Regions from separate parts of the Homo sapiens genome. Here all the other regions are linked to region 1. Evidence: promoter capture Hi-C in 16 types of primary human blood cells and fetal thymus (Javierre and others, 2016). All regions are on one chromosome and are shown on one strand. Each heading gives the region's core, a stretch centred on a gene start or on the middle of the fragment in contact. The rest is flanking DNA. Distances are from core to core; before and after follow the strand shown. Region 1 holds the start of TTLL3 (tubulin tyrosine ligase like 3). Region 2 holds the start of TATDN2 (TatD DNase domain containing 2). Region 3 overlaps SETD5 (SET domain containing 5). Region 4 has its middle 3.8 kb from the start of IRAK2. Region 5 overlaps SETD5 (SET domain containing 5). Region 6 holds the start of VHL (von Hippel-Lindau tumor suppressor). Region 7 holds the start of BRK1 (BRICK1 subunit of SCAR/WAVE actin nucleating complex).

Region 1 (3,279 bases), core at 270-2,769:
TTCGGGAAGTCCAGCCATCAGCTAAAGGGGAGTTGGGGTCAGCTGGACAGGAAGGTGGGGGATCCACCTTCACTCTTAAGAGCACATCTACCCAGTGACTGACAAAGCTGGGCTCTTACCAGGACACTCTTCGACTCTGCCTGCGGGGGCACTGCTAGAGTTTGCCTCTCAAACTGTCCCTGTGTGGTCCTTCTGTGACTGGCAGGCAACCTGAGTGATAACAGGTGTTTAAGAGACAGGCTTTGGAGTCAGACCTGGGTTCCAGTGCTGCCTCTGCTCTGTGATTTGAGGCAAATTGTTTAACATCTTGGAGCCTTACCTCCCCTGTGACTTTTGAGGATAATATTTTGCCAGTGCTTCCAAAAAGGTTGCTTACAGTCTTAGCCTGGGGGCCAGGCATAACTGTTGTGAACTATTACATTTCTTTCGCAGTTGACTCAAATGATTGTTTTTCCATTTCCAGTTTCTGGGGAGGGTGTGCTCTGCACCTTCTTGTTACCCCCATATGCTGCCCTCGCTAAGGACCTTACCCTAGGCCCATCTGCCAGGCCCAGCAGGTCTGATCTGGCCTCACCAGGCTCCAGCCACCCTGGCTGTCTTGTAGTTCGCACAGAGGTTCTTACCCTTCTCAGGGCTGTTGCTGGGACTGTCCCTTCCCTGAAGTGCAGTTCCTCCCCTTTCCCTGGTGACTCCTGACTCCTGGCATTTACACCTTCAGCTTAAATGCGCCACTTTATCTAAAATGCGCCCCCTTCCTGGTTTCACCTCTGCTTGTTCATTGCCCTTATTATACCTGTAAACTATTCTCTTCCTTTGTTACTTGCTTTTTATTCCCCTCACACTGGGCTTTTAGTAAGCTCCATGAGGTCAGGGGCCATTTGTTAGCGCCTATAAATACTGTGGAATCACTCAAACCCTAGGGCCGGTGGCACCAGGAAGTACTGGATAAGGAACCGCAACACTAACTAACTGGGGCTCAGTGCTCTCTTCCGCCTTCAGTGCCCTGCTCATCAAGGGTCTGGGTGAGGCCCCAGGTCATAAGGAAGCCCTCGCTCGACTGCCCCGGGGCCCATCGCAGCCCCCAACCAGCCCCGAGCGGTCTGATGGTGCCCAGGGAATGGTTTCCAAGGCAATAGCAAACGGGGCGGGGCTTGGAACGGAGGACAAGGCTCGAGCCTAGGCAGGAACTTCCCGGGAGAGGAGGCGGCGACGCGGAGGGGCGCGGGATCAGGGGCCCTGGGAGGGCGAGCGCGGCGAGGGGCGCATGCAGGGCCCCGACGCGCCACTGCTCCTGAGCGCGAGGGAGCTGGGGCCCGGGCGCCGGGGCTCGGCCTCCTGGTACCGCCAGGAGGGCGGCGCGGTGTGCAACTGGCTGCGGAAGCCGCAGCCGCTCGAGCCACGCACCAGTTTCCCCTCGGCGCGCCGCTCCGAGTTCCGTCCACCCAGGAGGCTGCCATGGGCCGGCCCTGCCTCCGCCCAGTCCGAGGAGGGTCACGCAGGCGGCAGATGCCAGGCGGGCAGCCCCGCCCCTGCGCGCCGCCTCAGCGGCGCCTTCAAGACGCTGGTCCCAGGCACCCACGCCCAGGGCGCCTCGGATACCCACCCCCTCGGCCCCCCGCACACCCCGGTCCTCGACCCCTCTCCGCAGGATGGTGAGGCCCGTGCGGCCCGCTCGCTCTGGCCTACAGCGGCTGCGAGGACGACAAGACGCTGGGGTGGAGGGACTGGGGGTCGGGAGAAGAGCGGCTGAGGGTGGGCATCTGGATGAAGGCAGGAGGAAGAAAAGAGGCGTGGCTATGGGCGGCCAGAAAAGATCCTAGGCCGAGACCCTAGGCCCAGCCTCAGTGTACCCCGCCCCTATTCCGCATCTTTCTGCAGGTTTCCCGGTCCTCTGGCGAGGATCCTCCAAGGCGTCTCACATGAACCGGCTCAGAAACGCCAAAATCTACGTGGAGAGAGCTGTCAAGGTCAGAGGAGGGGCAGGGGCGCTTAGAAAGGGCCCTGGGAGCGGCTCAGCCTGTCTCCCTGCGCTGTTTTCTTATATCCTTAAAAAACAAAAGCAAAAGAAAAAACAATAGCAAAAATCCTCAACCACCACACCCATCTTCAACTACCTCCCCGTTTACCCCTTCAGCACCAAACTTCTGGGCTCCCTCCACTCTGGTTCCCTGCGATGTCCCACTCTAATCAAGGTGCCTGGTGAGTTCCAGGGAGCCAAACCCAGCAGTGCCTTTCGGTCTTGATCTCGGTTGGGCACCCTGTATCTTTCGACACCGCTGCCCCACACACCCTTCCTCTTGGCTGTCTGACTGCACGCTCCTAGTTTTCCTTTCTCCCTCTTTGGCTGCTGCTTTTCAGCGGCCTTTAAAGGTTCCTCAGCCATTAGTGGCCCCCTGGCCCCTTCCCCAGGTCTGTCTCCTTTGGCTGTGTCCTTGGCTGAGTCCAGTCAGTGTGCTGCACCCTCTCCGTGCCCCTTCCAGCCCAGCCTCGAACTCCACATCCCGTAGATCTAGCCCCTACCTGTCATCTACACCCAGAAAACTTAACAAGCATTTCAAATTCATGTCCCAAACCAGACTTTGATCTTCCTGCCCAAACCTGTCGTCCTCCCCAGTCTCCAGTCTTTCCCATCTCTCAGTTCCTCACGCCAGAAATCTCATCTTTCTGTTTCTTCACCCACAGGTCTAATTCCATCAGCAAAACCACTTGTCATCTCCACCTCCAAAACGATTCTCAACTCTAGCACCTTCTCCCGTCTGTGTTGTAACCACCTTCATTTTAGTAATTGTGATTTCTCTCCTAGGCAAACTATGACAGCCTCCTAGCTGGTCTACCTCCATCCTGTCCCCTCATCTTTTTGTAATACAGCAGCAAGCCAAGCTTAGAAAGATTCCCTCAGTTAGCCTTTTTTGCTCATGACACTCTTAGTATGAAATCCAAGTCCGTTCCAAGGCCTGCAGGGCCTTCCACAGTCTGGCCACTGCCTACCTCCTCTGGGGCTTTCCCCATCATTTTCCATGTTCCACTCACTCTGGTCTCCCTTCAGTTCCTTCTGACCTCTCTCCAGCCTCAAGGCCTTTGCACATGCATTCCCCTCTGCCTGAACCGCCATTTCCCAGCTCTGTACATTCATGGCTTCCTTTCAACCTTCCCTGACCATGTATTTCTAAGTAGTTTCTCTGGATCCCATTAAGTATGCAGTTTCTGGAGCCAAACTGCCAGGATGTAAATCCCTGCTCTTTTGCTTAACCACTATGGGGCCTCAGGCACCCTGCTTAA
Region 2 (3,279 bases), core at 235-2,734, 440 kb after region 1:
CCTCGGCCTCCCAAAGTGCTGGGATTACAGACGTGTGCCACTGGACCCAGCCTCCTTTGCCAGTCTTAATACTAAGTTATTTTATTATTTTGGGAGAATTGCTACATCGAATATCAGCCCTTTGTCATATGTTTCGAGTATTTTTCTGAATTTGTACCTTGTCTTTGATTTTTTTTCTTTTTTGAGACAGGGTCTTGCTCTGTCCTCCAGGCTGGAGTGCAGTGGCGGGATCACAGCTCACTGCAGCCTCGACCTCCCGGCCTCAAGTGATCCTCCCACCTCAGCCTGAGTAGCTGGCATCACGCCCAGCTAATTTTATTTTTTGTAGAGATGGGGGTCGCACCATGCTGGCCAGGCTGGTCTCTAACTCCCGAGCTCAAGCCATCCTCCCGCCTCGGTCTTCCAAAGTGCTGAGATTGCAGGCGTGAGACACCGTGCCCAGCCGTCTTTAATATTTTTCACCAGGCGGATAGTTCACATTTTTGTGTAGTCTTTTTTTTTTTTTTTTTGGTGCCTTCTAATTCTAATTCTTCCCATTTCTGGGTGTGTACTTAGTCTCTCTGAGCCACAGTTTTCTGCTCTATAAAGTGGGGTGATAATGCTCAGTACACGGTTTGCTTTGGCTCGATGAGAAATCCAGGTCTGAAAGCTTCAGGTACAGCGGCCGGCGCTGAGGAAAACAGCGTTAAGTGAGGCGCGTCAGCGGACACCACCTGCCTGCACATCTGGCTGGCCTCAACTTCCCGCTGTTCGAGCCCACGTGAGTGGCTCCGCCCCATCTGGCTTCTGACCAATGGACGAGCTTCCTAAGGCGTACCGTCCCGACTCCAAGGCGCCTGGCTTTGAGGCGGGCTGCGTCTTGCTCGGAGTCCCGCCCCTTGCCGGGTCGAGCAATGGGCGCCTTCCGTTTGGCGCAGGCCCCGCCCCTGTCGCTCTCCGGCCTGCGGGCCGCAGGGCTCGTTCCGGAGGGCGGGCGCCACGGAGGCCGGAGTGGTCGCAGTTCGGGCGGAGGCCGGGCCAGGCGGGGCTGTAGGGCTGGGGCAGGCGGCGGGCTGCCCGGCGGGACAGCTGCGGCAGCCGGCGGGGGGCGTCCTGAGTTGGCGGTCGAGGGCGCTGCCAGCTCCCGAGGGGCCGCTCGGGCCCCTTCCGGCCCGGGTCTGGTTGGGCCGCAGGAGCAGGGCGGGCTGCGGCGCCCGGGTCTGGCCCTGGCCTACGGGCTAAGCGCCCGGCCCCGGGGCCGCGGATCCGGCAGCCATGTGTGGATCTTGAAGCGCCATGTGGTCTTCTGAAGCGCTTGACAGTTCTAAAGGGCTTTATATTGCAAACTGATCAAAGCGCTTCGTAGCCCCGGAAGCGCTTAGGCATCTCCGAAGTAGCGCTGGGCAAAGTGAAGGCTTCCTGATCTCAGAAGCACGTTGTGGGCTTGGAAACCGACGGCAGCCTTTAGTCAATTTTGGATCGCTTTGACTTCTCCAACACGGTTTGGCATCTCTGAAACCTTGAGAACTGTGATGGGCAGTGGAAAGAAGAGGGAAAGGTCAGTGAGGCTAGCCCCTGGCTCTGCCCTTATGTCTTGCCGTCCTCCTGGGCCCGGGGTGGCGGGAATCTGAGGTGGGGTCGCCAGGAAGGGTGGTGTTGGAATCCAGGCCCCCTGTACCTTGCAGGTGCCCATGGCGTCCGAGCGGGGCAAGGTCAAGCACAACTGGAGCAGCACGTCGGAAGGGTGTCCCCGCAAGCGCAGCTGCCTCCGGGAGCCCTGTGATGTGGCCCCCTCCAGCCGGCCAGCTCAGAGGTCTGCGTCGCGTTCTGGAGGGCCCAGCAGCCCCAAGCGCCTGAAAGCCCAGAAGGAGGACGATGTGGCTTGCTCGCGGAGGTTATCCTGGGGCTCATCCCGCCGCAGAAATAACTCCTCCTCCTCCTTCTCCCCACATTTCTTGGGCCCTGGTGTGGGCGGGGCCGCCTCCAAAGGCTGCCTGATTCGGAACACTCGGGGGTTCCTGTCTTCAGGGGGATCCCCTCTGCGTCCTGCCAACGCCTCTTTGGAAGAAATGGCTTCTCTAGAGGAGGAAGCCTGCAGCCTTAAGGTAGGTGGCTGCCACGCTTTGCAATCGGTGAAGCCCCTTCCACATGGCTTGAGAGGTTGGGGATGGGAATTTTGGTGGAAGGAGACTACAAAACATTACATCCTTGAAGGTCTGGAAGGTCTTTCTAGAAGTCCACTCCCCCCAAACTCGAAGACCTAGCAGTCTTCCAGGCGCGTGGCCTGAAGTTAAGTAGAGAGGTAATTTTCAAACTCGGCAGCACTTTGGAACTACTTGGAAAGCTTTAAAATACTTGGGCCTGCCTCCTACTCCAGAGAAACTGATTTATTGGGCTGAGGTGTGGTCTGGGCTTCCAGATTTTTCAGTGCTCCCCAGGTTATTGTAAACGTGCAGCCCCGTTGGAGAATCACTGCAGTAGAAGGTGGATTATGTGCTCAAGAGAAGAATGTATTTATTTTAGTTGTCAGTTTAAAGAATTGTGTGCCCTTGTACTTTGAACCACTCTGAATCACAGAACCAAGAATTGCGGTTCTTGGTGTAGCTTTTCTCCAAAGTCATAGTTTCCAGCATGTTGGGGTTTTGCTTGGTGGTGCTAGTTTTTTTTTTTTTTCTTTTTTTTTTGGAGGTTAAATTGTTAATTCCCTAATGGAAACATGCAAGAGGGTTTCATAAGTACTTTGAGCAGACCAAGGAGTGCTTCACAGAGAAGATACATTTCGCTCATCTACTCAATCAAGGCTTTGAACAAATATGTGTTGAGGGTTTAGTTTGTGCCAGGCAATGTTCTAGGTGTTTGGGATTCTTTACTAACAAAACAGATCACTTTCCCCTTAGAGTTTGCATCCTAGATTTTGAAGGTCTGAGTCTTAAGAAGTGAGAAGTTCTGCCTGTGGAGGAGTGGAGAAACAGTCTTATTTGGGATCAGATGGGCTGCCTCTAGAGAAAATTACTTTACAAAAGCAATTAAAACAGGCCCTAAGGAATATGTGTTTGTTTTTAAGCCTAGCCTTGGTGGTTTCTTTTGTGTAGCTGAGAAAGGAGGCTGTATTTGACTGTTTGTCTTGGGGACTCATAGGCTAAGTGCCCCTGGTTTTTTCAATGTGGACCTCACTGTCTGAACTCTTGTGTGGGCACGTGGATTTTTTCTTTTTAAATTCACAAATAACAGTGAGTTGAAAAGCCCTGTCTCTAGCGTAGGAATGCTGAATTTGTCTCAAATCAGGTAAGTATGGGACTT
Region 3 (3,279 bases), core at 265-2,764, 370 kb before region 1:
AAGTGGATCACCTGAGGTCAGGAATTCAAGACCAGCCTGGCCAACATGGTGAAACCCCATCTCTACTAAAAATACCAAAATTAGCCAGGCGTGGTGGCAGGCACCTGTAGTCCCAGCTGCTTGGGAGGCTGAGGCAGGAGAATCGCTTGAACCCAGGAGGCAGTGGTTGTAGTGAGCCGAGATCACGCCACTGCACTCCAGCCTGGGCAACAGAGCAAGACTCCATCTCAAAAAAAAAAAAAAATTCAGTAAGGATAAGCTTTTTAGGATTGCTTTATGTGCAGCACCAGTGTGACTGGTGTTAGCAAAGATTACAGGTAGCACTTTACCTAAAGTTTGAAGGCCCCACTTAGTATCTATCTTTAAACAGACTTGCACATACCTGTGAAAGAGTTGGGAGAGGACTCAGAGCTACAGAGCATCAGAGGCCTGGGATGTGTCTTGGAAGACAAATCAATCATGCCTTTGCTGGATCCGTCTCTTGCAAGTGGCCAAGTTTGCTTTAGCTTCCCCTTTATTTTTGTCTCATTTGCTTAGAGAGGGGCCTTTTAAATAGACTTTGGAGGCAGATAATAGCCCTAATCCTGGCTACTAAATGCTTTTCTCTTATCAAGCAACTATCATAACTTATCTCCAGAAGCTCGAAACCTTTCAAAAGCTATAAACTGGCTCTACCAGAAAACTGCACATAAACCCCATATTTTGCTTACAGTTTTGGGAGGTTGACAGCCTCACAGGTGTGTTAAAATTTAGAAAAAAAAATTACTAGTCATTTTGATTCTTTTAATTCTAAATTGAGTTATAAATTTTATGCTCAGAATTACTAGTTTAAAACTCCTCCAGTGATCCAGGTGGGAGCCATAAGAATTAGAAAAAATTATCATTTGGATTTTTAATCCCAGTGTCAAGAGCAGCTTCCCTACTGAAGACTTAATTGTAAATCAGGGTTTCTCAGTCTTGACACTGTTGACAGTTTGGACCAGATAATTCTTTGTTGTGGAAGGGACTGTTCTGTGCTTTCAAGATGTGAACAGGATCCCTGGTGTCTACCCACTAGATGCCGGTAACACTCATACACTCAGTTGAGATTATCAAAAATGTCTTCAGATATTACCAAATGTCACCTGGGTGCAAAATTTCCCTCAATTGAGAACCACTACTCTAAACCCAACTGAGGTAGAGTCTCTAATGCCTTGAAGGATGGGACAGCAGAGTAAACACACAGTGAGATTAGCGAACAATGGCTAATACTGTGACAGAGGCTTCCAGAATACAGTACACTTATCAAGTGTAAGTTTAACAATTGCCACTTAAAGCTGGGAATATTGTTTGGACACTGCCAGTCCCCCTAGTCTGTAAGCTCCATTAAGCCTAAGGTTTTGCACTATTCTTTTGCGCAACTGCTACTGATGTCAAGCAGGCGATACTCTGATTGTCAGTATGTTGGCTTTAGGTGTTTCTTTAGATCCCTTTGTTTATTGTTCAGTCTTTTGGACTCTAGTAAGAAATGTGGAGACAATAGTGTTGATTTTTTTTCTTCTATACTCCTGTTCCTTGCAGAAAGGATAGTAGACAATAATCAGTCAGCAACAGTGATGCAAAAGTGGTAAAAGAAAGTGTTATGATAAGCATCAGTGTTTTCTGTGCCATTCATAGAAAGTATATTTAATTTTATTGTACCTGTTTGCAAGTTTAATGTGGACATGGATTTTCAAGTAGCTTTGGTACTACAGTGTCTTTTCCTTCTAATCATCACTAGCATGACATCATCACTGTCAGTGTTTGTTTTGTTTTCTGATGGCACTTAAGTCTTGAACACCGTGGAGGAGAACATGTATTGGGCTTATGCTTTGTCTCTGTAGCTCAGGCACTGTCTGCCTAGGAAGCTGTTCCTGAGTTGTAGTAATCTTTTCTCAATACTGTCACCATAGAGGGCAATGGTTTTCCTAGAGGAGTATAGCAAAGTACCTCCTAGACATTTTCTATATTCTCCCTACCTACTCCTCTCCCCTCACTTCACCTCTTCAGATTATTTAGAATGTGGTAATTTAAATTGTTGAAAATAGAGTGTTAGAAAGATATACTCAAATAATAACTTTTTATATGGGTAGTAAGATTGGGATTGGATTAATGAGATTGATTGATTAAGATCACATCTAGGTTTAGAATGAACATGTATTATGAAAATAATAAGTGATACAAAAACATGCATTCTCCTGGAGAATAGTCAAAAAACCAGTTTGGGCTAACACTTAACACAGATATTCAGTGAGTATGAAAAATTTAAGCAGTGATAAATTTGAGGTCTCTACTGTTCATTTGTATGAAGATTTTCTTATGAACTTGATGTCAGTCCTTTGATTAGAAAATTGATTTTTATGACTTTAAAATGGTCATAAAATCACAGTGATGGGATGAAACTATGATCCAGATTAATTTCTTACTTTATAAATGGAGAAACTGAGCTTCCCCATTTAAAGAAGTTATTCAAGGTCTCACCTCTCATTGGTAACAAAAGCATGATAGAAACCAGATCCTCTGACTCCCAGTCCATTACTCTTTTATGCCACATCAATTGCCAAGTGATAAATTTTCTCTGGAACCCCAGCTTGTCCCACCCCCATTCCCAACCCTCTATTTATGCATGGACTTTACTAACCTCCCTGAATTTGTTTTCTACAGAATTCTCCCTCTGAAGCACAGAATTTAGATGAGAATACAACTGAGGGCTGGGAAAATCGGATAAGACTATGGACTGACCAGTATGAAGAAGCTTTCACTAATCAGTACAGTGCAGATGTACAGAACGCGCTTGAACAACACCTACATTCTAGCAAGGAATTTGTGGGCAAACCTACTATTTTAGACACTATTAATAAGACTGAATTGGCCTGTAATAACACAGTTATTGGTTCCCAAATGCAGGTAAGCACCAAAGGGTTGAGGACTCTCTAAGTAGCTGAAATTTTAAGAACCCAGGAAGAGGGTAATGGATTGGAATTACTGTTCCTTCCAAATGTACAAGGCCATGGAATAACAGATTAGCCAGGTGTTGATCATATGTAACCAAAAGTAGGTTATATTAACTGGAAACTACCTGGATACATATTTTTAAACTACCTTTATTAATAAAAAAATAGATGAATTGAGGCTGTGTGCAGTGCAGTGGCTCACTCCTATAATACAACACTTTGGCAAGAAGCCAAGGTGGAAGGATTGCTTGAGGCCAGCAGTTCAAGACCAGCCTGTACAACATAGTGAGACCCTCTCTTTACAAAA
Region 4 (3,279 bases), core at 217-2,716, 350 kb after region 1:
AAAAAAAAAAAAAAATCATTTTGTATAGGACTAAAAACATGTAAAAGGAGTATATACTCCAAACAATAATGGTGATTCCTCAGGGATGAGGTTATGGGAAGGTGTTTGTTTTCTCTTTCTTTCTGTCTTTGACAAATATCACATGCTATCAGAGAAACCAATAAAGATATTTTTGTTAAAAAAAAATATAGCCGGGCGCGGTGGCTCATGCCTGTAATCCCAGCACTTTGGGAGGCCGAGGTGGGTGGATCACCTGAGGTCAGGAGTTTGAGACCAGCCTGACCAACATGGAGAAACCTCGTATCTACTCAAAATACAAAATTAGCTGGGTGTGGTGGCACATGCCTGTAACCCCAGCTACTCAGGAGGCTGAGGCAGGAGAATTGCTTGAACCCAGGAGGCAGGGGTTGCGGTTAGCCAAGATCACACCAGTGCACTCCAGCCTGGGCAACAAGAGCAAAACTCCGTCTCAAAAAGAGAGAAAAAAAAAGAAAAATATATGCAAAGTGCATAGAGAAGCTTTATTATTCTCCTTTCATCAGTCTTCCCTCCTGCTCCAGCTTTTTTTTTTTTTTTTTTTTTTTTTTTGATATGGAGTCTCACTGTGTCCCCCAGTCTGGAGTGCAGTGGTATGATCTTGGCTCAGTGCAGTCTCCACCTCCCGGGTTCAAATGATTCTCCTGCCTCAGCCTCCCAAGTAGCTGGGATTACAGGTGCGTGCCATCACGCCCAGCGAATTTTTTTGTATTTTTAGTAGAAACGGGGTTCCGCCGTGTTGGTTGGGCTGGTCTCGAACTCCTGACCTCAAGTGATCCACCCACCTCGGTCTCCCAAAGTGCTGGGATTGCAGGCATGAGCCACCATGCTTGGCCTCTGCCCCAGCTTTCTGATATGACTGGTTCTCAACTGTGCCAGCACATATTAGAATTATCTGGGAAGCTTTAAAAAACAGTAGTGCCTGAGCCCCACTCCAGAATAATTGAATCTGTCTCCCTGGAGGTAGGGCTAGGCATTTATACTTTTTAAAAGCACCCCAGATGTTTCTACTGTGCAGCCAGGGTTGCAAACCACTGACTATAATTTCAAGGGAATTAAACTTGAACAGCTCAAAATGACGTAAGTGTGTAATTAATTACATTCAGCCTCAATAACTGTTTCTAACTGATCCTGGTGGGTGTTGGTCATGGAAAATAGCCAGAGGAAGAAATTAACTGCAAGATCAGAGGAAATTTCTTGTGGTGAGGCAGTATAACACAGCAGAAAGAGCATTTGCTTTGGGTCAGACTTGAGTTGCATCCTGTTGATGCGGGACAGGCAAGCCCCCAAATTGGGGTTTAGCCTGGGAGGGTTCTTAGCTTCACCCAGAAAGGAATTCCAGGGCCAGCCAGTGGTGTTAAATAGCACCTTTTATTGAAATAGCAGTGTGCAGCCGCAGCAGAGGTACTGCTCCTTGCAGGGTAGGGCTACTCCATAGGCAGTGTGCCCAGAGTAGTGGCTCAGAGGCAGTTCTACAGTCACATTTATACACACTTTTAATTATATGCAAATTAAGGGGCAGTTTATGCAGAACATTCTAGAAAGGGGCGGTGACTTCTTGGAGTCGCCATGGCAATGGTAAACTGACAAGGTACACTGGTGGCAGTGTCTTATGCGAGGTACTTCCCACCACACCTGTTTTAGCTAGTCCTCAATTTGGTCCGATGTCCCAGCCATTCCTTTCGAGTCGAGTGCTGCCCCCTACCTCACTGTCACTTGGCCAACTTGGCCCAGTTACAATTGACTTCAGCCTCAGTTTCTTCATCTGTAAAACAGAAACAATAAACCTTTGCAGGGTTGTATGGATTACAGATAATGTATGCTAAATGCCTGCTAGGTGAGTTGGTAGGTGAAGGGCAACCATTAGTAATAGCAAAGACCTTACTTTGAAGAACTTATTCTAAAGAGTGGTAACTGAGATGTGTCCCTGTGATGACCTGCTCAGGCCCAAAATGACTCAAGCTTCTCTGGAAGACAGAATCCTAGGACACAGATCCCAAGCCCTGAGGCTGGGGTGAGAAGGAATTGCGGGAAGGGCCTGAGGATGCAGCAGAGAGAGCAGTGGGGGCTCCTCTGCCTTCCAGGATTGACCAAGGCTGAATGTGAAACTTCCGTGGTCTTAAAGCCTCACCCCAGGGAAGAGGCCCTGTGGCACTGAGGGAGGAGCTCTACACACACGCTGCTTGCGGAAGAGAAGGAGAAGCAGGTAGGGGACTCTGCAAAAAGAGAAAAGGAGAAAAAGAAGAGGATCTTTATTCTCTTTTACCCCCGTGTGCCTGGGATGGAGATGCTTCTCCACCCAGCCTATGGCAAACAATCATTACAGTTCCCAAGTCCACCTTCAGCCACTGCTGAAAACACAGGACTTCACTTGAAAAGTAGTCTCAGAACACTGAAATATGTCCCACTTTCAACATCAAGGAGGACATAATAGTAATCCTTTACTGGGCTCAGCACTTCACAGTTGATCTTGAGCGTTTTGGAGTCCATTTAGGCTTCATAACAATCCTTCCAAGTGGCTGCAGCAGGAGATCCAGTTTCCAAAAGGGAAAACAGAACTGGCTCAAAGGACTAAGAGCCGGAGAGTGGCTGAACCAGGTCTCCAAACTTGATAGGACTCCAAGGCCAGTGGGTGCCTTTTCAAGACCACTAATGACAGCTACCATTTTTTGGGCACATTCTCTGTGCGAGGAAAGCCCTGTAGTAGGTGTTCTATATAGGCTACATAATTTGATTTATTCCACTCCCCTCACAACTCTAAGCAGTAGGAAGGAGCAGGCCCACTTTACAGATGCTGGAAACAAGGCTTGACGAATGAAATGAGTTGTCCAGAGTCACAAAGCCTGTTGGTGGCAGAACTGCAACTTGGCCCTAGGACTTCTCACTTTGATTTCAGCTTCCTCCTTTTGCAGCGCTACTCCATAGCTGACGGCCACAGCTATACAGTGGTACCTACTCTAGTTACTTATCTGCCCTTCGTGACCTCGCCTAACCTCTTGGAATCTATTTACTTCTGTGTAAAATGGGGATAATAATATCTATAGTATAGGCTTGTAAGAATGACATAAGATCATTTTTGCAAAGTACATTGTAGATACAGATAAATGTATCTGTATCTACAATATACTTTAGCCAGTGGTGATGGAGAGCCTGGGGTCAGAATACTTAGGTTCAAATGATTTTAGCCATATTATTTAACCTCTCTGTGCCTTAGTTTCCTTATTTGTAGAATGGGGCTATAAC
Region 5 (3,279 bases), core at 330-2,829, 340 kb before region 1:
GTTAAGAGCCATTGTAGATTACAGATTAATGGCTTTACTGTAGAGCCTTAAATTAATCTGTGGTTTCAAACTCTCATCCAAGCTTTGTGTTTCACAGACTTGTTGAGCCCATTAAAGAAATGGAAGTCTCGCTATCTGATGGAGCAGAATGTCACCAAGTTACTTCGGCCTCTGTCTCCAGTCACACCACCCCCTCCCAATTCAGGCTCAAAGAGTCCCCAGCTGGCCACACCTGGCTCATCTCACCCAGGAGAAGAGGAGTGTCGAAATGGATACAGCCTCATGTTTTCACCAGTCACATCTCTTACTACTGCTAGTCGCTGCAACACTCCTCTACAGTTTGAGGTGATTTGGGTTTGGTTGCTGGGAGTGCTGGATATGAAAATCATCATTTGTACCTTCTCATTTCAAATATAATACCATTCCAAATGTTTCTTTACTATCTTTCTTCCCCATCTCAGTAAGAGAATGGGAAACCTCAGGGTCATTGTGGCCTGTTACCTGGTAGCCTCTCATCTTGGCAGCCCCTATGCTTCCCAAAATAGGCATACTGCTACCACAAATCCCATTCATGTATCTTTTGCATGCAGTCCATCAATCTCCATAAGTTTAGGTAGTAAGCATGCTAGATCTCCATCGTTATCTTTACTGTATACTTTGGTCAAAATAGGCCTCTAGCTGCCTGTAGTATCTGTTAGTAACACTAGCCTGAGAGCACAGATGATATTGATTGATTGTGTCTTCGTTTCTAGGCCTTTAAATAAGTGAAGTGTCTTTCCCAGGTTGTTTGGTATTTTCATTGTGGCCTTAGCAGAGATTTAGAAAACATTGGGGTATGGCTTATGGCGAATGTGGGTTTTTTCCACTCCAGGTTACTTTCCCTCTTTGTTATAATGTCTTAGGAATCAGAAGTAGACAAGAGGCTAGCAACATGTATTCATGAGACAAATTTATTACCTTCACTGTTGGATTAAGTTAGAAATGTCTGCCTCAGCTGTTTCAAAAAGTAATCTTGAATCACTTTAGTGTTCAGGTTTGGGTGACAGCAGGTTTCAATAGAATCCATGTATACTTTTTTAAAACACTTCATCTATTGCATGTTACTTTGATTTGTAATTAAAATGGACACTGTCTCTTTTTTCCTTCTCAGAAAAATTTGTTCTGACCACTAAACACACTCTGCTGCTCTGCCCCCTTGTTTGCACTTCTCCAGATGTGTTTTTTGAGAAAGGTGAACATTTTAACCAATCTTACGTTTCCTATTCAGCTTTTCCAAGTATGAGGATTCAGAATACTTAGCTTTTATGAGTAACTAAGAGGCAGCTAGCAACATTGAAAGCAGAACTGTATTCTTTCTTACCCTAGACCTCTACTTTTGGAGCAGACCTCTTTCTGGGTGAGGGAAAAAACCTCCTGGTTACATATCAGTTATCTAGGGAAATTACTCTTTACCAGATTATTTATGAAATTCTTTCAGCCAGATAATAAAGCAGCTGATTCAGGCCTTTCTAACTTGACTTTGTCTACTTGCAATTGACTTTGCAGTTTGCACCTAGAGCTTTATAGTAAGGTATCATGAGAGGAATTCTCCCTGGAGGGCATAAGATTATAGGAATAGAGTGTCATACTTTATCAATACAGGTTTTATTATAAATGTGGAATTATGAAAATTAGAAGGAGGCCGGGCGCAGTGGCTCACACCTATAATCCCATCACTTTGGGAGGCTGAGGCAGGCGGATCACGAGGTCAGTAGATCAAGACCATCCTGGCTAACGTGGTGAAACCCCGTCTCTACTAAAAATACAAAATATTAGCCGGGCGTGGTAGTGGGCGCCTGTAGTCCCAGCTACTCGGGAGGCTGAGGCAGGAGAATGGCGTGAACCCGGGAGGCGGAGCTTGCAGTGAGCCGAGATCGCGCCATTGCACTCCAGCCTGGGCAACAGAGCAAGACTCCGTCTCAAAAAAAAAAAAAAAAAAAAAAGAAAATCAGAAGGTAAGTCACTTTGCAAAACAAGCGGGTTCAGTACTCAGTGTGTTCCTTATCCCTTGTAGCATTTGGGATAACTATTAAACACTGCAAATATAAAGTGGTTTTGGTTTTGTTTTGTTTTGTTTTTTTTAATTGGTGATCATTTTAATAATACAGTCCATGCATAATGTTAGAATACCAGGAGGGAAGGAAAATATTAAATAGTAAAAGGTCCAAGGCATGGTTTCACTTGCAATTTAAGGAAATTTTACCTTTCTCATCAATAATAGAACAGATTTCACCACCCTGACCCATTCTAATCACCATTTTAATGGCCATACTCTTTGCTGTATTCTAGTACAGAGAGGTGGGGAGCCTTTTTTGTAGCAAAGGCTGTGACACATTGTGAAATATCAAAAAGGTGTCACGTATAAAGACCAGCTTAGGCTGGGCATGGTGGCTCACACCTGTAATCACAGTGCTTTGGAAGGCTGAGGCAGGAGGATTGCTTGAGGCCAGGGGTTTGAGACCAGCCTGGGTAACATCGTGAGACCACATTTCTGCAAAAATAAAATACAAAACTTAGCCAGGTGTAGTGGCATATACCTGTAGTCCCAGCTACTTGGGAGGCTGAAGCAGGAAGATCACTTAAGACCAGGAGTTTAAGACTGCAGTGAGCCATTATTGTGCCACTACATGCCAGCCTGGGCAACAGTGAGATCCCATCTCTAAAAATAATTTAAAGACCAGCTTAGGCCAGGTACAGTGGCACACACCTGTAATCCCAGCTACTCGGGAGGCCAAGGCAAAGGAATTGCTTGAGCCTGGGAGGTTGCAGGGAGCCAAGACTGCGCCACTGCATTCCACATTCCAGCCTGGGCAACAGAGGGAGACTCTCTCTCAAAAAAAAAAAAAAAAAAAAAAAAACAACCTTACTAGATTAGTTTGGGGAAGGATATTTTTGAGAAGGAAAAAAGCATTCAGGAAAATGGTGAGAAGTCTTAAGTGCTAAGGGGAAGAAGGTAAGAAGATAAACAGTGGAAGAGAACAAGATCTTCAGGAGGGGAAAGCATCTAGAAAGAAGAGTGGAAGCAACATTGGGAGGACAAGCTTAGTTAGCCTCTCCTTTCTACCAGAATAACCCTCCCCTCCTATTCTTGCCCTGAGAGCCATACTCCACCCGCCATTTCACACATACGTGCACCTAGATGTACACCACCCACTGTCCATGCCAAGTAAAATTCACAGCCAAAACCCTGCTTTGCTGAAGCAGCCTCATTTCCCCTACCTCAGCATGTGCCTGCCACCT
Region 6 (3,279 bases), core at 780-3,279, 330 kb after region 1:
TGATCCTCCTGCTTCAGCCTCCTGAGTAGCTGGGACTACAGGTGCACGCCACTATGCCTGGCTAATTCTTTCATTTTTTATAGAGACAGGACCTCGCTATGTTGCCCAGGCTGGTTCCAACTCCTGAACTCAAGTGATCCACCTGCCTTGGGCTCCCAAAATCTCGGGATTACAGGCGTATAGTGCTAGGCCTTCACATTCTTATATACCCTTCTGTTTCCTTAGCTGTGAAATGGAGATAATGACATAGCCTTAATTCACGTGGGATGCTTAGCACAGTGTCTGGCACTTGATAGATTTTTTTCTTTCTACTTGAAATTTATTTTTGAGCTGGGCACGGTGGCTCACACCTGTAATCCCAGCACTTGGGAAAACCAAGGCAGGCAGATTACCTGAGGTGAGGAGTTCAAGACCAGCCTGGCAAACATGGTGAAACCCCGTCTCTACTAAAAGTACAAAAATTACCTGGGTGTGGTGGCACACACCTGTAATCCCAGCTACTCCAGAGGCTGAGGCACGATAATCACTTGAACTCGGCAGATGGAGGTTGCAGTGAGCTGAGACTGAGCCACTGCACTCCAGCCTGGGTGATAAAGCGAGACTGTCTAAAAAAAAATTATTTTTAACTAATATAAAACTCTCTGAACCCTTCTTTTTCTGAGCTGCTTCTCCACTTGAGTCCATCCCACATCATTGAACATTTAATTACACAGAATTGTGTACCATCTTCCTTGACCCCCAGATCTTTAGCCTTCTATAGTACCCTGTCTCTTTTTGTCGTACTAGTCACAGTTGCACTTTTTTTTTTTTTTTTTTTGAGACAGAGTCTCATTCTGTCACCCAGGCTGCAGTGCAGTAGCACAATCTCAGCTCACTGCAACCTCCGCCTCCCGGGTTCAAGCAATTCTCCTGCCTCAGCCTCCTAAGTAGCTGGGATTACATGCGCGCACCACCACGCCAGGCTAATTTTTGTATTTTTAGTAGAGACGAGGTTTCACCATGTTGTCAGGCTGGTCTAGAACTCCTGACCTTGTGATCAGCCCACTTCAGCCTCCCAAAGTACTGGGATTACAGGCATGAGCCACTGCACCCGGCCATAGTTGCTATTTTATTTGTGTGATTGATTACCGTATGACGCTTTTATTGAAGTGCAGTGAAGGCAGGAAACATGACCGGTTTTTACAATATTTTCAACACTTATCACCATAGGTGGTACATAGTAGGGCCTTAATAAATATTTGTAAAATGAACAAAGTTAATGAGTGTTTATGTTTGTAGTTTTAATTGCTCTGAAGTAAATATCTGATTTTCCAATTTCCACCAGAGTGCTCTGCACATAGTAGGTCTAATTATTTTTCCCTCTTTACTAATCACCCATGCCTTGTAAGAATTCAGTTAGTTGACTTTTTGTACTTTATAAGCGTGATGATTGGGTGTTCCCGTGTGAGATGCGCCACCCTCGAACCTTGTTACGACGTCGGCACATTGCGCGTCTGACATGAAGAAAAAAAAAATTCAGTTAGTCCACCAGGCACAGTGGCTAAGGCCTGTAATCCCTGCACTTTGAGAGGCCAAGGCAGGAGGATCACTTGAACCCAGGAGTTCGAGACCAGCCTAGGCAACATAGCGAGACTCCGTTTCAAACAACAAATAAAAATAATTAGTCGGGCATGGTGGTGCGCGCCTACAGTACCAACTACTCGGGAGGCTGAGGCGAGACGATCGCTTGAGCCAGGGAGGTCAAGGCTGCAGTGAGCCAAGCTCGCGCCACTGCACTCCAGCCCGGGCGACAGAGTGAGACCCTGTCTCAAAAAAAAAAAAAACACCAAACCTTAGAGGGGCGAAAAAAAATTTTATAGTGGAAATACAGTAACGAGTTGGCCTAGCCTCGCCTCCGTTACAACGGCCTACGGTGCTGGAGGATCCTTCTGCGCACGCGCACAGCCTCCGGCCGGCTATTTCCGCGAGCGCGTTCCATCCTCTACCGAGCGCGCGCGAAGACTACGGAGGTCGACTCGGGAGCGCGCACGCAGCTCCGCCCCGCGTCCGACCCGCGGATCCCGCGGCGTCCGGCCCGGGTGGTCTGGATCGCGGAGGGAATGCCCCGGAGGGCGGAGAACTGGGACGAGGCCGAGGTAGGCGCGGAGGAGGCAGGCGTCGAAGAGTACGGCCCTGAAGAAGACGGCGGGGAGGAGTCGGGCGCCGAGGAGTCCGGCCCGGAAGAGTCCGGCCCGGAGGAACTGGGCGCCGAGGAGGAGATGGAGGCCGGGCGGCCGCGGCCCGTGCTGCGCTCGGTGAACTCGCGCGAGCCCTCCCAGGTCATCTTCTGCAATCGCAGTCCGCGCGTCGTGCTGCCCGTATGGCTCAACTTCGACGGCGAGCCGCAGCCCTACCCAACGCTGCCGCCTGGCACGGGCCGCCGCATCCACAGCTACCGAGGTACGGGCCCGGCGCTTAGGCCCGACCCAGCAGGGACGATAGCACGGTCTGAAGCCCCTCTACCGCCCCGGGGTCCATTTTGCAGACGGGGAACTGAGGCCCCTTGAGGCAGGACACATCCAGGGTGACGCTGCTCGTAAGCGTCAGAGCATTCTTTTTTTTTTTTTTTTTTTTCTGAGACGGAGTCTCGCTCTGTCGCCCAGGCTGGAGTGCAGTGGCGCGATCTCGACTCACTGCAGCCTCCGCCTCCCGGGTTCAAGCGATTCTCCTGCCTCAGCCTCCTGAGTAGCTGGGATTACAGGCGTGCGCCACCGCGCCCGGCTGATTTTTATATTTTTAGTAGAGACGGGGTTTCACCATGTTGGTCAGGCTGGTCTCGAACTGCTGACCTCGTGATCCGCCCGCCTCGGCCTCCCAAAGTGCTGGGCTTATGGGCATGAGCCTCCGCGCCCGGCCCAGAGCATTCTTTATAAGGCCGAATAGTTTGCATTTGAAGGTGGCTCCCCCCAGTCCCCCACCCCACGTGTATTTTCCCCTCAAAGAAAAGCTGCATCCTTAACACCCCATCTGTTCAGTCCTCATGACTCCAGTGGGCCAGTTCTGCGTAGTCCCTGCCCTCGTGGAGAACACATTCCTCCTGGGGAGACTGACAGATGCAAAGACAGGAACAAGCCAGGGTCATGTTGGCGCCGGAAGAGCCGACCGTGTGTGGCGTGGGAAATTGACTTACCTGCCTGCTGGGAGATGGAGGGGTTGCGGTTGTGTGGTTTCAGTTAAGGAGCACTTCCCGGAGAAGGAAGAGAGCAGGATGGAGTAGGAACTAGCCAACCCTAGGTAAGA
Region 7 (3,279 bases), core at 263-2,762, 310 kb after region 1:
TTTTGTAGATCCTTCTTGTCCTCAAACATACATTTTTCCATAGTTGCAATTAAAGAAAAATGTGGGCCAGGCAGGGTGGCTCATGTCTGTAATCCCAGCACTTTGGGAGGCCGAGGTGGGCAGATCACTTGAGGTCAGGAGTTGGAGACCAGCCTGACCAACATGCTGAAACCCCGTCTCTACTAAAAAATACAAAAAATAGCCAGGTGTGGTAGCGGGCACCTGTAATCCCAGCTACTTGGGAGGCTGAGGCAGGAGAATCACTTGAACCCGGGAGGCAGAGGTCACAGTGAGCCAAGATCGTGCCATTGCACTCCAGTCTGGGCATTAACAGAGAAACTCTGTCTTAAAAAAAAAAAGTAAGAAAAGGAAGGAAGGAAGGGAGGGAGGGAGGGTATTTTGTTTTTCCCCTCAATTTATTGTATGTGTTTTCATGTTGCTTGTGTTCATAATTAGCATTTAAATGACTGCATAATAGGCCGGGCATGGTGGCTCATGCGTATAATCCCAGCACTTTGGGAGGCCGAGGTGGGTAGATCACCTGTCAGTTCGAGACCAGCCTGGCCAACATGGTGAAACCCCGTGTCTACAAAAAATACACAAATTAGCCAGGCGTGGTGACGTGAGCCTGTAGTCCCAACTACACCAGAGGCTGAGGCTGGAGGATAGCTTGAGCCCAGGAGTTCAAGCCCAGGAGTTCGAGGCTGCAGTGAGCCATGATCATGCCATTGCATTCCAGCCTGGGCGACAGTAAGACCTTGTCTCAGGCTGGGCGAGGTGGCTCACACCTGTAATCCCAGCACTTTGGGAGGCCGAGGCGGGCGGATTGCCTGAAGTCAGGAGTTCGAGACCAGTCTGGCCAACATGGTGAAACACCATCTCAACTAAAAATACAAAAAAATTAGCCGGGCGTGGTGGTGTGCGCCTGTAATTCCAGCTACTCGGGAGGTTGAGGCAGGAGAATAGCTTGAACCTGGGAGGCGGAGGTTGCAGTGAGCCGAGATCACACCACTGCACTCCAGCCTGGGCGACAGAGCAAGACTCCGTCTCAAAAAAACAAAAAACAAGAAAAAACCTTGTCTCAAAAAACAACACAAAAACACAAATTTCCTTCTGAAAGGGACTGTTCCAGTTTGCAGTGTGCCCAGCTATTTATGACCATATTATTTTTTAGACTCCGTCTAAAAAAAAAAAAGACTTGTATTTAATGTGATTTAATCGACTGTGCCCATCTCACTGCGGACACTGAGTGCGCAACCTGAGCCTGGAGCAGTTGAGGGAGACGGCAAGACCCCACGCGCCGTGTAACGACCATAACGCGCGTGCACTACAACCTCGCCGCCGGCGTCCAGGCTTCTGTGTTCTATAGCGTGGGAGTAGAGAGCAAACGCCGGCGAGGACGTGACGTTGCACAGGCCTATCATAGTGCCCGAGAATTCGTGGGTGCTCAAGAGGATGGGTGTGGCCTGGCAGCGCAGGCGCACTAGAGGCCTGTAGGGTCGGGGCGCCTGCGCAGTCGCTCTTCCTCAGGCGGCGGCCATGGCGGGACAGGAGGATCCGGTGCAGCGGGAGATTCACCAGGACTGGGCTAACCGGGAGTACATTGAGATAATCACCAGCAGCATCAAGAAAATCGCAGACTTTCTCAACTCGTTCGGTCAGCGGGCCAGCAAGGGGAGGCGGGGAGGAGGGAGGCCGCTGAGGTGGTTGGGCTGGGGCGCCGGGGAGATGCTTTGAGAGGACTCCCGCAGCCTTCGGCTGTTGCGGGTTTTCACTTCCTCCTTCAGGTCCCACCTTCTCCCTCCCGCCCTGACCCTCAGGCTCCCGTAGACAGTCTCTGTAGGGTTATCCTGCCCTACGCTGAGCTCATGGCTTCCTGCCATCCCTCTGGATCCATTCTACAAGTCCTTCTCCTAGACGCGTCAGGCAGCCCCATCCTCGCTCCGTGGTTCTTCTCCTAAGTGGTCTCCCTGCCTCCTTTGTACTCTGCATCCATTCCGGTCCCCACTTTGCACTCAAAGTGAGCATCCGGGACCGTGTCACTCCTCTGTTTCAAGACTGTTGACCGTTCCCCATCTTCAGGATCTGGTCGATACCCTCTAGCGTCGTGCCTTTTAGTTGGACCCGTTGTCAACCACTCCCGTCTTGTCCATTCCTTCCTGTTTCCTGTGTCTGCTGCGGTGAGAGTGGTGGGAGATGAGGTCAGAGGGATGCCAGGATCTTGTAGGACCTTGGAAGTCCTCTCTGTATTGCTAGTATATATAGCTTATGGTAGGTGTTCTGTCTGCTTCTAGCCCATTCCTCAGAGCTAACACAGGTCGGGTGCCTTCAGCAGAAAGATATCTTTACCAGAATCTTTCCTAGGCATGGCCTGCTTGTGACAGCCTTAAATTCTTCCTTATGAACAGCAAGCAAAGCAATCGAGATTCCTACCCCTTCTTCTCCAAGTGTTTAACAGAACTTGGCACTGGTTAGACTTTCTTGTGTAATTACAGGATATAGGGACTAGTGTACTTTGGAAAGATTTTTAAATGAATGATTCTCTAACTAAAGGACTGATGGCCTTAGGAGTACAAAGGTGACAGAGCAAGAGATTGTCAGAAAGCATCAGCGAGAGATGCTAGAGCTCCATATGAGGCCCTCTCTTAAGGCATAGTGGGAGACACAGAATAAGAACCACTTCCTACATTCAAAGAAGTTCTAATCTTGAAGATGAAATAATGACAACTTCAGGACAAAGAAGAGCATCATTTTTGTATTAAAGTATTTTCATACAGGGTGTTTAGGACTATAATCGTGGCTGAGTTCAATGGCTTATGTCTGTAATCCCAGCACTTTGGGAGGCCAAGGTGGGAGGATTGCTTGAGCCCAGGAGTTCAAGACCAGCCTGAGCAACATGACCAGATCCTATCTCTACAAAACAACGACAACAAAAAAATTAGTTGGGCATGGTCATGCACACCTGTTGTCCCAGCTACTCGGGAGGCTGAGACAGGAGGATCACTTGAGCCCTGAAGGCAGTGAGCCATGTTCATGCCACTGCACTCCAGCCTAGGCGACTGACTGAAAATTGAAAAGCCTAAGCTTAGGATTTGCAAAGGAGAAATGTCCCTTTTCTTGCTTTATAGGCAAGGAGATATCAGCTTGGATATTTTTATGTCTAATTTGTAAGAGTCACATTTTATGATCAGATAGAGAGTAAAGACTTTATTTGGGCTTTTCAACAAATTCTTTTTTTTTTTTTTTTTTTTGAGACAGGGTCTCACTCTAGCCCAGGCT

Evidence for each region. The method cuts DNA at HindIII sites, captures the fragments that hold promoters and counts their contacts. A CHiCAGO score of 5 or more calls a contact.
Region 2: a contact is called between a fragment that was not itself captured here and the fragment with the promoter of TTLL3 in region 1, in 14 of 17 cell types (monocytes, total CD8 T cells, megakaryocytes and 11 more). The highest score is 9.0, in monocytes.
Region 3: a contact is called between a fragment that was not itself captured here and the fragment with the promoter of TTLL3 in region 1, in 1 of 17 cell types (neutrophils). The highest score is 5.5, in neutrophils.
Region 4: a fragment that was not itself captured here is called in contact with the fragment with the promoter of TTLL3 in region 1 in 7 of 17 cell types (monocytes, activated CD4 T cells, erythroblasts and 4 more); the score reaches 8.1 in monocytes.
Region 5: a fragment that was not itself captured here is called in contact with the fragment with the promoter of TTLL3 in region 1 in 1 of 17 cell types (neutrophils); the score reaches 5.1 in neutrophils.
Region 6: the fragment with the promoter of VHL here is called in contact with the fragment with the promoter of TTLL3 in region 1 in 1 of 17 cell types (total CD8 T cells); the score reaches 5.6 in total CD8 T cells.
Region 7: a contact is called between the fragment with the promoter of BRK1 here and the fragment with the promoter of TTLL3 in region 1, in 16 of 17 cell types (total CD8 T cells, naive CD8 T cells, activated CD4 T cells and 13 more). The highest score is 18.6, in total CD8 T cells.

The regions. Positions count from the first base shown.
Region 1 is chr3:9,808,743-9,812,021 of GRCh38, forward strand. TTLL3 (tubulin tyrosine ligase like 3) reads left to right here and starts at 1,520. Exons shown (of 14, transcript NM_001387446.1): 1 at 1,520-1,652; 2 at 1,879-1,967. The coding sequence starts at 1,920. The region is part of intron 4 of ARPC4-TTLL3 (ARPC4-TTLL3 readthrough); the gene reads left to right. RefSeq lists an enhancer at 592-741 and a silencer at 1,222-1,701. The HindIII fragment of the contact is 3,571 bases long and covers 1-2,878 here.
Region 2 is chr3:10,247,531-10,250,809 of GRCh38, forward strand. It overlaps TATDN2 (TatD DNase domain containing 2), which reads left to right and starts at 929. Exons shown (of 8, transcript NM_014760.4): 1 at 929-1,537; 2 at 1,665-2,084. The coding sequence starts at 1,671. RefSeq lists a silencer at 815-1,244 and an enhancer at 1,497-2,365. The HindIII fragment of the contact is 1,674 bases long and covers 648-2,321 here.
Region 3 is chr3:9,437,774-9,441,052 of GRCh38, forward strand. SETD5 (SET domain containing 5) reads left to right here. Exons shown (of 23, transcript NM_001080517.3): 8 at 2,683-2,925. Among named protein-coding and RNA genes, the nearest start is that of SETD5, 42 kb to the left of the region's middle. The HindIII fragment of the contact is 2,514 bases long and covers 258-2,771 here.
Region 4 is chr3:10,159,481-10,162,759 of GRCh38, forward strand. No RefSeq gene overlaps it. Among named protein-coding and RNA genes, the nearest start is that of IRAK2, 3.8 kb to the right of the region's middle. The HindIII fragment of the contact is 1,059 bases long and covers 938-1,996 here.
Region 5 is chr3:9,464,328-9,467,606 of GRCh38, forward strand. It overlaps SETD5 (SET domain containing 5), which reads left to right. Exons shown (of 23, transcript NM_001080517.3): 18 at 98-345. Among named protein-coding and RNA genes, the nearest start is that of SETD5, 68 kb to the left of the region's middle. The HindIII fragment of the contact is 2,998 bases long and covers 81-3,078 here.
Region 6 is chr3:10,139,749-10,143,027 of GRCh38, forward strand. VHL (von Hippel-Lindau tumor suppressor) reads left to right here and starts at 2,030. Exons shown (of 3, transcript NM_000551.4): 1 at 2,030-2,439. The coding sequence starts at 2,100. It also overlaps the pseudogene LOC124906359. RefSeq lists an enhancer at 2,947-3,279. The HindIII fragment of the contact is 16,438 bases long and covers 1-3,279 here.
Region 7 is chr3:10,114,163-10,117,441 of GRCh38, forward strand. It overlaps BRK1 (BRICK1 subunit of SCAR/WAVE actin nucleating complex), which reads left to right and starts at 1,513. Exons shown (of 3, transcript NM_018462.5): 1 at 1,513-1,657. The coding sequence starts at 1,540. RefSeq lists enhancers at 1,321-1,610, 2,061-2,110. The HindIII fragment of the contact is 6,229 bases long and covers 1-3,082 here.